4 separate regions of the Homo sapiens genome follow, and all the other regions are linked to region 1. Evidence: promoter capture Hi-C in 16 types of primary human blood cells and fetal thymus (Javierre and others, 2016). All regions are on one chromosome and are shown on one strand. The core of a region is centred on a gene start or on the middle of the fragment in contact, and the rest is flanking DNA. Distances in the headings are between cores, read along the strand shown. Region 1 holds the start of CTSC (cathepsin C). Region 2 overlaps GRM5 (glutamate metabotropic receptor 5). Region 3 has its middle 160 kb from the start of RAB38. Region 4 has its middle 220 kb from the start of RAB38.

What was found. Contacts are between HindIII fragments. The CHiCAGO score rates a contact against its expected background, and 5 or more counts as called.
Region 2: a contact is called between a fragment that was not itself captured here and the fragment with the promoter of CTSC in region 1, in 1 of 17 cell types (non-activated CD4 T cells). The highest score is 5.3, in non-activated CD4 T cells.
Region 3: a contact is called between a fragment that was not itself captured here and the fragment with the promoter of CTSC in region 1, in 5 of 17 cell types (total CD4 T cells, M2 macrophages, megakaryocytes and 2 more). The highest score is 5.3, in total CD4 T cells.
Region 4: a contact is called between a fragment that was not itself captured here and the fragment with the promoter of CTSC in region 1, in 1 of 17 cell types (megakaryocytes). The highest score is 7.1, in megakaryocytes.

Annotation. Positions count from the first base shown.
Region 1 is chr11:88,335,996-88,339,071 of GRCh38, forward strand. It overlaps CTSC (cathepsin C), which reads right to left and starts at 1,741. Exons shown (of 7, transcript NM_001814.6): 1 at 1,506-1,741. The coding sequence starts at 1,677. LOC101929174 (a long non-coding RNA gene) reads left to right here and starts at 1,889. Exons shown (of 5, transcript NR_188511.1): 1 at 1,889-2,061. RefSeq lists an enhancer at 1,457-1,736. The HindIII fragment of the contact is 10,462 bases long and covers 1-3,012 here.
Region 2 is chr11:88,832,431-88,835,358 of GRCh38, forward strand. The region is part of intron 3 of GRM5 (glutamate metabotropic receptor 5); the gene reads right to left. Among named protein-coding and RNA genes, the nearest start is that of GRM5, 230 kb to the right of the region's middle. The HindIII fragment of the contact is 1,307 bases long and covers 703-2,009 here.
Region 3 is chr11:88,011,765-88,014,723 of GRCh38, forward strand. It overlaps a transcript of RAB38 not described here. Among named protein-coding and RNA genes, the nearest start is that of RAB38, 160 kb to the right of the region's middle. The HindIII fragment of the contact is 1,252 bases long and covers 736-1,987 here.
Region 4 is chr11:87,955,516-87,958,388 of GRCh38, forward strand. It overlaps a transcript of RAB38 not described here. Among named protein-coding and RNA genes, the nearest start is that of RAB38, 220 kb to the right of the region's middle. The HindIII fragment of the contact is 827 bases long and covers 886-1,712 here.

The DNA of each region.
Region 1 (3,076 bases), core at 491-2,990:
TGATACGTTTAACCTTCATAGATGAGGGCTCAGACCTGTGGGTGCCTTTAATTACTGAATTAAGGCCAAAGGTAATTTTATAGGCAGAGCCTTCCTGAAAATGATTCAGCTGTGTCCATCTGGAGAGTTGTGTATTTTAAAGTTTTTCCATGTTTGAGAGTAATGCTCTGACATGGGAGATTGCATGTGACAGGGCAGTGCAAATCCTGATCTCTTTCTGCCCCAACCTTCAAACTCAAATTTAAAAAAAAAAAAAAAAAAAAGGCCAGGCGTGGTGACTCCCGCCTGTAATCCCAGTACTTTGGGAGGCCGAGGCGGGCGGATCACGAGGTCAGGAGATGGAGACCATCCTGGCTAACACAGTGAAACCCGTCTCTACTAAAAATACAAAATATTAGCCGGGCGTGGTGGCATGTGCCCGTAATCCTAGCTACTCGGGAGACTGAGGCAGGAGAATCGCTTAAACCCGGGAGGCGGAGGTTGCAGTGAGCCGAGATCCCGCCACTGAACTACAGCCTGGGTGACAGAGCAAGACTCCATTCTCAAAAAAAAAAAAAAAAAAGTTACAATGTTCAGGATTATGAAATGCTATACAGTCAGTTAAAAAGGTATTTCTTTAGTAACAAATGACTTAATCTTTGTTCTGTTGACAAGAAAATTATAGCTGATTTTTTACTGACTCTGCAGAAGTCACAGGCTGTAAGAGGGTTTGGGTAGACCACAGTGTGACTCTTCTAACTAGTGATTGTCTTTTTTCCACCCCACCCCCTTCACTAGGTTCTTTGTTCTAGGGGTAACCATGTTATCTGAAGGCATATGGAATATCTCCAGTATGTTCAAACACTAGGTATTTATTGAGAGCCTTCCATGAGCCAAACATTGTGCAGACTCTGGGCATTTCTAATTACTAGGTTCAGAGTTAAGTTTTCTTTGTTATTAATTTTTTAAAAAATTTTTACCTCCTTGCAATGCATGAAACAATGCAGAGTGGTACTAGCCGTTTTCTAGTACTCATCAACACCCGCTCAAACCAAAATCGCTGGGCAGAAAGTCCCTTTCCCACCATCTAACAAAAAGAGAAAACTTCATGCTATATCCTCGAGAGTCTCTGAGCTCATCTATCTTCACTAGTAAAATAGTAATAAAAAATAAAAATAAATTTTAAAAATAACGCTACCAGATCGGACTGGAGAACCAAACGATTGCAGTTCCCAAGTCTCTCTCAAAGCAAACAAAATTAAGCGGGAGGAATAAAAAAGTTCTTGATCAAAGTGTTGAGTCCCCAAGATAACCAAGAAAGTGTGGAGTTAGAAGTTCTCAGCAGATGAACTTTAACTTCGCGAGCCTGGCGGGGAAGAAGGTCCCCAAGGGTCCCCGAATCCAGTCAAGATGCTCTGGCCACCCACAAGCGTCTGCCTGGGGGGAAGCGGTAGTTGGCGTGGCGCTGCGTTAGGGGCTCAAGGGCAGAAAGGACGACCCGGAGGACTGCCGAGCCGGCGGCTTACCCATAACCGAGCAGTTGACATCGCGCTGGGAACCGCTGGAGCCCACCTGGAAGACCCAGGTGCCCAGCAGGTCAAGATAGGTGCAGTTGGCAGGTGTGTCGCAGCGCACGGCGCCGTCGCCGGAGAGAAGCAGCAGGAGGGCGGCGAGCAGCAAGGAGGGCCCAGCACCCATGCTGCAGGGAGCTGAGAAAAGAGGTGAAGAATTACCAGGAAGCCGAGCGCTGCGGGCTAGCGGTGAGTCCACCACGAGGCGCGCGCCTTGAAATAGCTACGCCGGCCCGGAAACCCGTGGGCGGGGTCACTGAGCAGCAGGGGATTGGGGGTTGGGCGCCAGGCGCGTGCGCGTCTCTGAAACGGGGACTTGGGAGCGCGCGCTGCCCCTCACTTGGCTGCAACTGGACCCAGAACTAGGGAAGAGGCCAGGGACAGATTTTTTTTTTTTATTTTTATTTTTTTTGCCGAGGGACGTTTCAAAATTTTGCACGGCCAGGGTGACAAAAAGAGGATTTAAGAGCCACAAGCGGTCCGCACATGACCCAGACTTCGTTCCTGTGCGGTAACGTAGGGAGAGAAGGAAAGGGTGTGGGGGGAATAAGGGAGTGGGTCAGGTGAAAGAGCGCGACAGAGGGAGAGATCTAGCAAGTGGAGTTCTGTTTTACTTGCTATTCTTCCCCTTTAGTCTTTTTTCTCAGGTCCACTTGCCTCATAACCAACTTCTTGTTTTTTCCTCTGAAAAACTTCGCTAGCTAACATCAACTATTCCAGCTGTTTGAGAACTTATCTTCCTTCCGTTTTCCAACTCTTCCTACTTTTTTATGTGCTTGATTTTGTTTTGTTTCCTGGTAAATGCTGTTTGCCTGTTTGCATTCAGCAGAATTCAGTTTTTGTGCAAACCTGCAGTTTTGATGTATTAGCGTTGTGGGGGTTTTCCCTCTGGCACGCACACACATGGCGCTCTCAGAGATGATATTGCTCAACCCCTTTTATGTTACAGAGGAAAAGCAAGAGGCCCAGAGAGAGGAAGCGGCTTGCCCAGGGTGAGAAGGGTGAGGAAGGAAGCTAGCCAATGGGAGAAGGCTGGTCTTATGAACCGTTCTAGTGTGTCAGTCTGATCGCCAAAAATTATTAGGTGGCACTATTTCCAGGTGCCTCCTTGCTCAGTTTAAGTATCACCCTTTTCCGTAAGAGCCTCCCGTTCTTTCCTGGCTTTTGTTGGTAATTGGGGCTCCTTTCTCCCACTGAGCCTACTAGGTGTCAGGCCCTGTGGACACAGTGATGAACAAGACAGACCTGATGTGTCCCCGTTTTCTTTGGGATATGAATTTTTGCCCCCTTTGCACTGGTCACAAATCAATATTCATATGTCCATTTTTTTTCCACCAGATTATAAACATTCAAAGAGAGCAGGTCCAAATTATTCACTTATATCTCCCTAGATTCTGGTTTATTCAGAAAGTGTCCTTGAGTGTTAAAATAAGTGTACTTAATATTCTTATCTTGGTTGCCAAGCTTGAAAGCCAGTTTCAATGAGGCAAAAGGAGTTGTCCTTGAAAGTTCAGAGGTGAAAATAC
Region 2 (2,928 bases), core at 106-2,605, 500 kb after region 1:
GAAAACTACAAAATTCTGATGAAAGAAATTTAAGAGAACTTAATTGAATATGAAGACATCCCGTATTCATAGATTGAAAGAATTAACATTGTTACAATGACCATACTGCTCAAAGCAATCTACAGATTCCATGTAATTCCTTTAAAAATACCAATAATATTCTTCACAGAAAAAGAAAAAAAAATCTTAAAATTTATATGGAATCAAAAAAGAGCTTGAAAAACCAAAGCAATCCTAAGTAATAACAACAAAGCTGGAGACATCACACTACCTGACTTTAAAATATATTACAAGAATATAGTGACCAAAACAATATGGTATGATAGGAAAAATGGTACATAGACCAACAGAACAGAATAGAGAACCCAGAAATAAATCCATGCGTTTTTTATCCAAATGATTTTTGGAAAAGTTGTCAAGAATATTCAATGAGGAAAGAACATCCTTTTCAATAAATAGTGCTGGGAGTATTTGATATCCATATGCAGAAGACAGAAACAGGACCCCTAACTCTCATGATATATAAAAACATCTTAAATGGATTAAAGACTCAAAGTAAGACCCCAAACTATAAAACTACTAAAAGAAAACATAGAGGAAACACTTGAGGACATTGGGCTAGGCAAAGATTTTATAGCTAAGACCTAAAAAACACAGACAACAAAAACAAAAATAAACAAATGGGATTGTTTTAAACCAAAAAGCTTCTGTACAGTGAAGAACATAATCAACAGAGTGAAGAGATAACCTGTTGAATGGAAGAAAATATTTGCACAATGTTTCATCTGACAAGAGAGTAATATTTAGTATATACAAGGAACTTAACAGCTTAAAAAAAAAACTAACTCCCGCTGCCCCCCCAAAATACAAATAATTGCATGAAAAATTGGGCAAAAGACATGAACAGACATTTCTCAAAGACGTATAAATGGCCGACAGGTACATGAAGGAATGCTCCACATCAATAAGCACCAGGGAAATGTAAGTCAAAACCACAGTGAGGTATCATCACCCCAGTTAGAATGGCTATTATTAAAAAGACAAAAAATAAAAGATGCTGGCCAGAATGCAAAGAAAAGGGAAAGACAATATTGGTAAAATTATACAGACACTATGGAAAACAGTATAAAGGTTTCTCAAAAAAGAAAAAATAAAACTATCGTATGATCAGCAATTCTAATACTAGGTATGTATCTGAAGAAAAGGAAATCAGTAGGTCAAAGAGACATTTGCACCTCCATGTTTATTACAGCACTATTCACAAAAGCAAGATATGAAATAAATCTAAGTATCCATCAATGGATTAATTGTTAAGAAATGTGGTATATGTAAACACAATGAAATACTATTAGCGCATAACAAATAATGAAATCATGTCATTTTTAGCAACATGGATGAAACTGGTGTTCATTATGTTAAGTTAAATAAGCCAGGCACAGAAAGACAAATATTACATGTTCTCACTCACATATGTGGGACCAAAAAAAAGGTTTTCGCATGGAAGTGGATACCAGAGGCTGAGAAGGGTGTGTACATGGGTAGGGCGTAAATAAGAGAGGTTGGTTAATGGGTAAAAACAATTGTACAATTAGATAGAAGAAAAACATTCTAATGTTTGTTAGCTGAGTAGACTATCATTAACAAAAATATATTGTTTGTTCTAAAATATCTATAAGAGAGAACTTGATATGTTCCCAACACATAGAAATGATAAATACGTGAGGTGATGGATACTGTAAATACCCTAACCCTAACATGATCATTACTCATTCTGACTGTAAAAAAAAATCATGTGTACCCCATACATATGTACAAATATGTATCCATGACAAAAGCAATTTAAAAAATTACTTTTTGTAAAAAAATTGCCAAATATTTTTTTAAAGTAAAATTAAGTAAGAAAACAGATTTTGGCATGTACAAAAAGGTAAATTGAGAGAATCTCTATAAATCATCTTGAAGCATAAAGACTTGTATTCATGACTTGCTAAGCTATTAGAAAACAATAAAGCTTTAAAATATTCTGAACTAATGACTGAATGATATCTAATCAATATTCACTTTATCACCTGGCAAGTCTAATAATATGAAGTCAGAGTACTGAAGAAACTACATCTATTTTCCCTGCCTTTGAAAGGAAATAAAACCTACGAAGGCTTCCTTTAAAACAGCACGTGTCCAAGAATGTATCTGGTCTTCCTTGTCTCACCACTTTACTAATAATTTGACTTTTCCTAATCCAAGTGATTGATTAGTTGAATGCATGTTTAAGCCTCATAGAAAGTGCTCATTTCTTCAGACGTGATTTGCAAAGGCCAGAAATTCACCATTCAGTAAGAAAAGCTATGAAATAGACCTGTCATAAACTCATGGGGAGGGTGTCCTAGGGAGTCACCTCTGTTCTCCACCAGGAGACTTTTAGCTGGCTTACTTGCAGAGAAACATATATTTAGTCTACTTTTTCGATTTTAGGGTGTGAGAATCCTGCCTTTTACTTAGGCTGACTGAGTTGAAGAGAACCGTTTTTCTGCCTCTCTATTACTGCCATTTTTCCCCCCCTGCAGTTTCAGCCACTCTAAAATATCTACAATGTGTTAGGTATGAAAGGTATGAAGATTTATAAACCTTTACCCACACTTTCAAGGAGCTTATATTCTAGTGTAAGAGGGAAAAGAAGAAAACAGAAAAATAAAAATGAAAAGTTCCAGGGATATTTAAGGGGTCTGTGGAAGTCTTACTGGAGTTCAGGATATCTTCCAAACTGCCTGGAAATGTCTTACGTGATAAACCTGATACATAAACCTGAGTATATAGGTAAAAGACAGGGAAGTAATTCCAGGGACAAAACAGTGTAGGTTACACTGTAAGCTAGATATGTTCAGAGAATTGTAATCATTTTGAGATAGAATAGGTGAAGATACAGCAGTG
Region 3 (2,959 bases), core at 112-2,611, 320 kb before region 1:
GTAGAAAATTAAGGTTCAGTGGGGTTAAACAATGTTTCCAAGTCAGACAGTAGGTAAGCAGCACATCTGGGACTCAGGTATAGGCCTCCATAACTCCAAATCCTTTGTTCTTAATTAGTAAGGCACACTGTCTTTTGAGTGAGAGATTTTGCTTTGAGACTTTTGCTCCATTCGTGTTGTTCTGCTTTGCCAGATTAAAGCTACCATGGGGCACACTCACTCTCTCTATATCCCTTCCTTAAGTTGTCTCAAACAGTGTGACATTCACCTGAGAGATGGGACAGGAGATTCCCACCTTAATCCTGGCCTGCCATGAGTGGGGTCCAGTCACTGGTAGAGTCACTTTTGCTCTCTGGGCCTCATCAGATTTTCAATCTGGTCACCAAGAGTCATGGCACCGGTGAGGAGAAATGTTTAGACTGTGACCTACTGATTAATGAAGCTGACGATCACACAGCCACCAGAAGCTTCTCACTCTTCAATTGAAGCAGGTAAAGACAGAGTCACTGTACTGTTCAGATACTTGGAAGGACACTGGAGGAAGTAACTTTCAGCATTTGTGTCAGGACATAAGGCCAGCAGCAGGAAAAGACACCACACTGGAAGGGAAGACACTGGGACCAGGATTGTTGGTAAGTAACGGGGAGGAAGACGGTGGGAACCAAGCACGGAAGGAGTATATGGAACTTACTGGATTATTTTTCCTAATAAAGTTTCTATTAAAAAATAGTTTTAAGCTTGAACAGCTAGCATACCTGGTAGCATATTTTTCTGGCTTCTGGGTGGGGACTAGAGTGAAGAAGAATTATCAACAATTAACAAGGCTCCCAAAAGCCATCTGTGCCCTTTGTCTTGTGAACAGCTCTTAACACAGAAATTACATGCTCAGCAAATTACAACCAACCAGGTAGGACAGCAATAAGCCTCTGAAAAGCTCCTTTGTACTGGGGAAAGAGGATTATTCCTCAATTATATTTAGTCAAACTCCTCCACTATACTTCCTGTCCTTCCTCAATGTCCCAGTGGGTGCTTGAACAAATAAGCCGAATCTGATAATAGTAGTGTTCCTTTACTACACTAGTGGAAAAAATTGATTTTTAAAAAAGCTCAAATGTAACTTCTTACTCAGCATACACAATTTAAAAAGAATTTCAAACAAAGGACTACGTGTACAGAAAGTATTGTGTTACAAAGAGGGTCCACTCTGAACTCCCAAAGCACACACATCTCAGGGTGCTCTGGGCCTGTTTTCTCATGTGCAAAATGAGATGGTTGTCCCAGAAAAATCTCATCCTTATGGTTCTTTCCAGGTCTGACATTCTGTAGGGATAGTAATACATTAAAGTTTATTTATCTCAAAAGGCCTGTAGGTAATAAACTTTCACTAAATACCAAAAATAATACAGAATGAAACTTTAATAGTTATCTAATCTCAGATACCTTGGAGAATATAAATTAGGAACAGGCATAGAAAATTGGAACAAAGAAATAACAGCCTTGATATTAATTGTCTTGCTTATCTGTCTAAAGCAGGGCTGAGGAACATATTTTGTTTGTTTTAGTTCATCAATTTCTTTTGTTCAGAGTAAGTATATGTTCAACAGAATAGAAGTGAATGCCGTTTTATTTTCTACTAATAACATCCAAGGATGTGACTTCATGATTGCTTTTTTGTTTTTGTTTTTTTTTGCCATTTAGAATGACTGGAACAAAAGGAAAATAACCAATTGAGAATGACTAATAGCATAAAAAGCAATGCTGAGATTTTGTTCTAGCTGATTCAAAATCTGAAGATTTGGAGATTTATGCTTGCCTGAAAAATGCTGCAGTGAAACACTAAGAGCCCAGAACACTTAGGATGACAAACTGTGAAATCACTCAAAGAAGGACTCATCAGCAGGTGCTAGGACCGAGATGGATAAAAAGAAAGATGCATAGGCCAAGTCCTATTATTCACACCTTCTAGAGTTTATGGTTTACTAATGAAAGCTTCTTGCATTAACCCTGGCCTGCAAAAACCCAGGACTGGAATGAAATGGCTATTTTTCAAGGCCATGCAATATAATTGATTGAAAGCAGACATACTGACATTAAAATCAATAGCACAGTAAAGAGCACATCGCAGTACCCTTTACATATTGCTACATAGTTCCTGCTCAATAAATAATACCAGAATAGCAGCAGCAGCAGCAGCACTAGTGGTAAAAGCAGTCATATTAGAAGTGGTGACCGTAGCAGTAGCTATTATTGTTATGGTATTAAGTGGGAGATAGAAGACAAGTGCACTACTAGGGACAATCTCCTCTTCCCCTCTTGCTCTCCAGTATCAAATAGTCAAGAATAATGGGAACTTTAGTAGGAGAAATAAACGGATTTATAATCTGTATGCCAGGTCTTAATGCAGTTACTTATATATACTGTCTTATTTCTATACTCCATATGGTAGGTAGTTTCAACTGCATGTTACGGATGAGGAAACAGGGTCAGGGAGTTGAAAAAATTTCTGCAAATTCACACAGTTGCTAAGTGGAGCAAATTAGGATGCAAAGCCTGATATGCCTGGTCTCAACCCATCATAGTGTCCCTTATCTGTATATCCTAAAATTTCAAGGACAGAATGACCCCGGTCTGTTACTTGTTTTACAATACAACAAGGCTATTTGGTAGGTATTATTATCCTAATTTAAGAGACCAGAAAAATGAAGTTCTGACTGGCAAAATGACTTTCTCAAAGTCACACAGTTCAGAAGTGGCAGAGTTGAGATTAGAAGACAGATCTATCCTCCATGATTGTTACAACAGCCACAATCTGGATGTAACAAGTCATATTAATGGTGGTGGTCATTGCTAATTTCTCCCATCACCCATACCTACCCTGCTGGCAAGGCCTGGTTTGTACCCTGACAACCATGTGTTTTGGGGAGGATCCTTCCTCAATCCTTTTTACTGATGGGCCTTA
Region 4 (2,873 bases), core at 49-2,548, 380 kb before region 1:
ATTATTTAAAGTATCAGTAGACAATATGACTTATCCTATAGACTCTTTTGTTTAACGAAGCCTAAAGCTATTGTATAAAGCCCGTAGCTAACTATAAGCCAAACTTAAATGAATAAAATAAGCACAACATTTAGCTCTTATATCTATCAATCATCTATCTATCAATCAATCTTTCTATCATCTGTCAATCATCCATTGAGCTAGGCATTCATGAGGCTTCAGATGACCCCTGTCATCCGAAAGTGAATATTTTCTATAAAATATTGGTTTTCTAGGTCACCGTTTTCACACTGTGGGGTCATGCCTCATAACTCATTAGTGAGTGATAAAATCAATATAATGGGTAGCAAACAGTATGCACACACACACACACACACACACACACACACAAGTAGGACAGAATAGAAAATATTGTATTTTCTCTTAACAAGACATGTCAAAAGAGAAAATGCAATTTTATAAAACTCTTGCTTCAGTACATTAGCAGACATAAAAAACTAAGTGCTAAACCAAAAATGTTTAAAAGTCTCCGTTCTACAGTATGGTTCATATATTTTCTGAGCTAATAAAATAATTTTTAAAAACAAACATACATACATACATGCATATACCTTGTAACTGTAAGTAAGTAAATTATTTAACTTATCTGAAAATATTTACTTGTAAGTAAATATCAACGATACAAAGTCATGATAAAGGACTATTATGAAGAATAAAATGAGAACATGTTGCACAAGTCCCTCAAACTACATCCAGCAAATAGCAAATAAATTGTAGCTATTGTTCTTATTATAAAATTACACAGAGCATAACACTAGAATCAAAAAGTTGTGAGAAGAACAAAAATATCCTTTAGTCATCTGCATTGGAGACCACTCACATGCAAGCTTAAATTCTTGGGTCCTCGCCTCTTCACTATTCTCTGCTGCAGAGATTTGCTTAGCACAGGCTTCTATCACCTGCACCATGGCCTCCCACTCCTGCCCCATGGTCTCTCAGATGCCATAGTAGGAGATGTCTGTAGAAACCAAACGGCAGGATAATTAACCCCTACGTGTCCAACCTTGTCCACTGGGGTCTGGGAACTAATTAATAATTTGTGGGAGCTCAGAACATGATATGTGAAAACATGGCACTCAGCAATTGAAAAAGCTACAGGAGCTAGAAGGTCACTCTGACCACCCCCACTTTTCTGTATAAAGCATAGTTATAAAACATTTTTTTTAATCTACCTTAACTGAAAGTAAGTCATAAGACCCGCATTCCAGAGGAGTACTGCACCAAACCTGGAGAGAAGGAATGATACACAGAGAAGCCAAGAAGAATTTGAACCTTTCAGGGCCTTTCTGGGTTCCCTCCCCCCACCTTCAGTTTATTATCATGAAGTTTCACCCTGTTTTTTGTACACTGACATTTCTACAGGACTGTCCATTCCTCATTGAACCTAAGTATAAAAATGCAGTTTTTTGGGGGGGGGTCCTTGAGTCCTCATTTCCGAACGCTCTCATGTCACATAAAACATTGTTAAATCAATTGGCTGTGCTTTTCTCTTATGAATCTGTCTATTGTTATAGCACTGTAAGTAATAACTTACAGTGGGTGAGGAAAAATATTTACTTTTTCACTCCCACAAATTGATTCCCCCTTTGTCCCTTAGGTGGTCAGTTCCAAGATTCATGTCACAAGTTTCCTTAAAAGTTCTCTCTGAATCAAGCTTCTTTGCCTGTCACAGTAGACAATGGGATCATACATATTTGGATTGCCTTTCTCTACTTCCTGCTTCTCTCCCCTCACCCCCCATAGGGGCAATAAGGTAATAACTTTTTCTCATCCGTCATAAGGGTCACGGATGACAGTCCTGTAACAAAAGACAGATTAACAGAAAAAAAAACCCATAAGTTTATTTAACCAGGGTTTTATGTGACCCCCATACCCAGGGAAAACTGTGTGCTTTTATTCTAAGTCTGATGAAAAAAGTGAAAAGTTGTGAAGAAGCATGATTGGACAAAGAAAGTAGAATCTAATAGTAATCAACTGCGAGGAGACCAAGCAAGGCCTACTTGTTCAGATTATTCTTGGGCTCTCTATGTGGCATTCCTCTCTCAGCATATGGGGCAGGAACTCTAGAACAAGACCCTCATGACCTGCTTTCAGGGAAGGTAGGCCAGAGAGTGACGTTTCTAGGTTTTATGGTTCACTTTGAGGGAGAGGAGTTCTAACTTCTATAATCTGAGGTGGGGAGAAAAATTCTTGACACATCTTGGGGGAGCGTGGGGAAAGGAAGAAGGGAGAGCATGAGAAGGTCAGAGTGACCTTTCTTCTAAGGCCTACCAATCTCCTTCCTAACGAAATACTCAGCATGCCATGACACCATATTTTGGGATATCGTGTTCTGATCCCTGATATGCTCATTTCTCTTCCCTAGAATCACTTTCCAAATATCACTTTCCAAATAAAGCACAGCTGGTCCCAGACTTACAATGATTCGACTTACGATTTTTGACTTTATGATGGTTTGAAAGCCATATGCATTCTGTAAAAACTGTACTTCAAATTTTGAATTTTGATCTCTTCCCAGGCTAGCAATATACTGTACTCTACTCTTTGTCACTGGCAGCCACTGCCCCCAGTCAGCCAAGCAATTACAAGGGCAAACAACCAGCACTCTATGGGGTTCTATGTTGTTAGATGATTTTGCCCGGCTGTAGGCCAATGTAAATGCTGTGAGCACATATAAGTAGGCTCGGCTAAGCTACAATGTTCTGTAGGTTAGGTGTATAAGATGCATTTCTTAGCTACATATTTTCAACATATGATGGGTTTATCTAGAGGTAACCCAAGTTAAGAAGCATCTACCCCTGCATGCAAGCCTC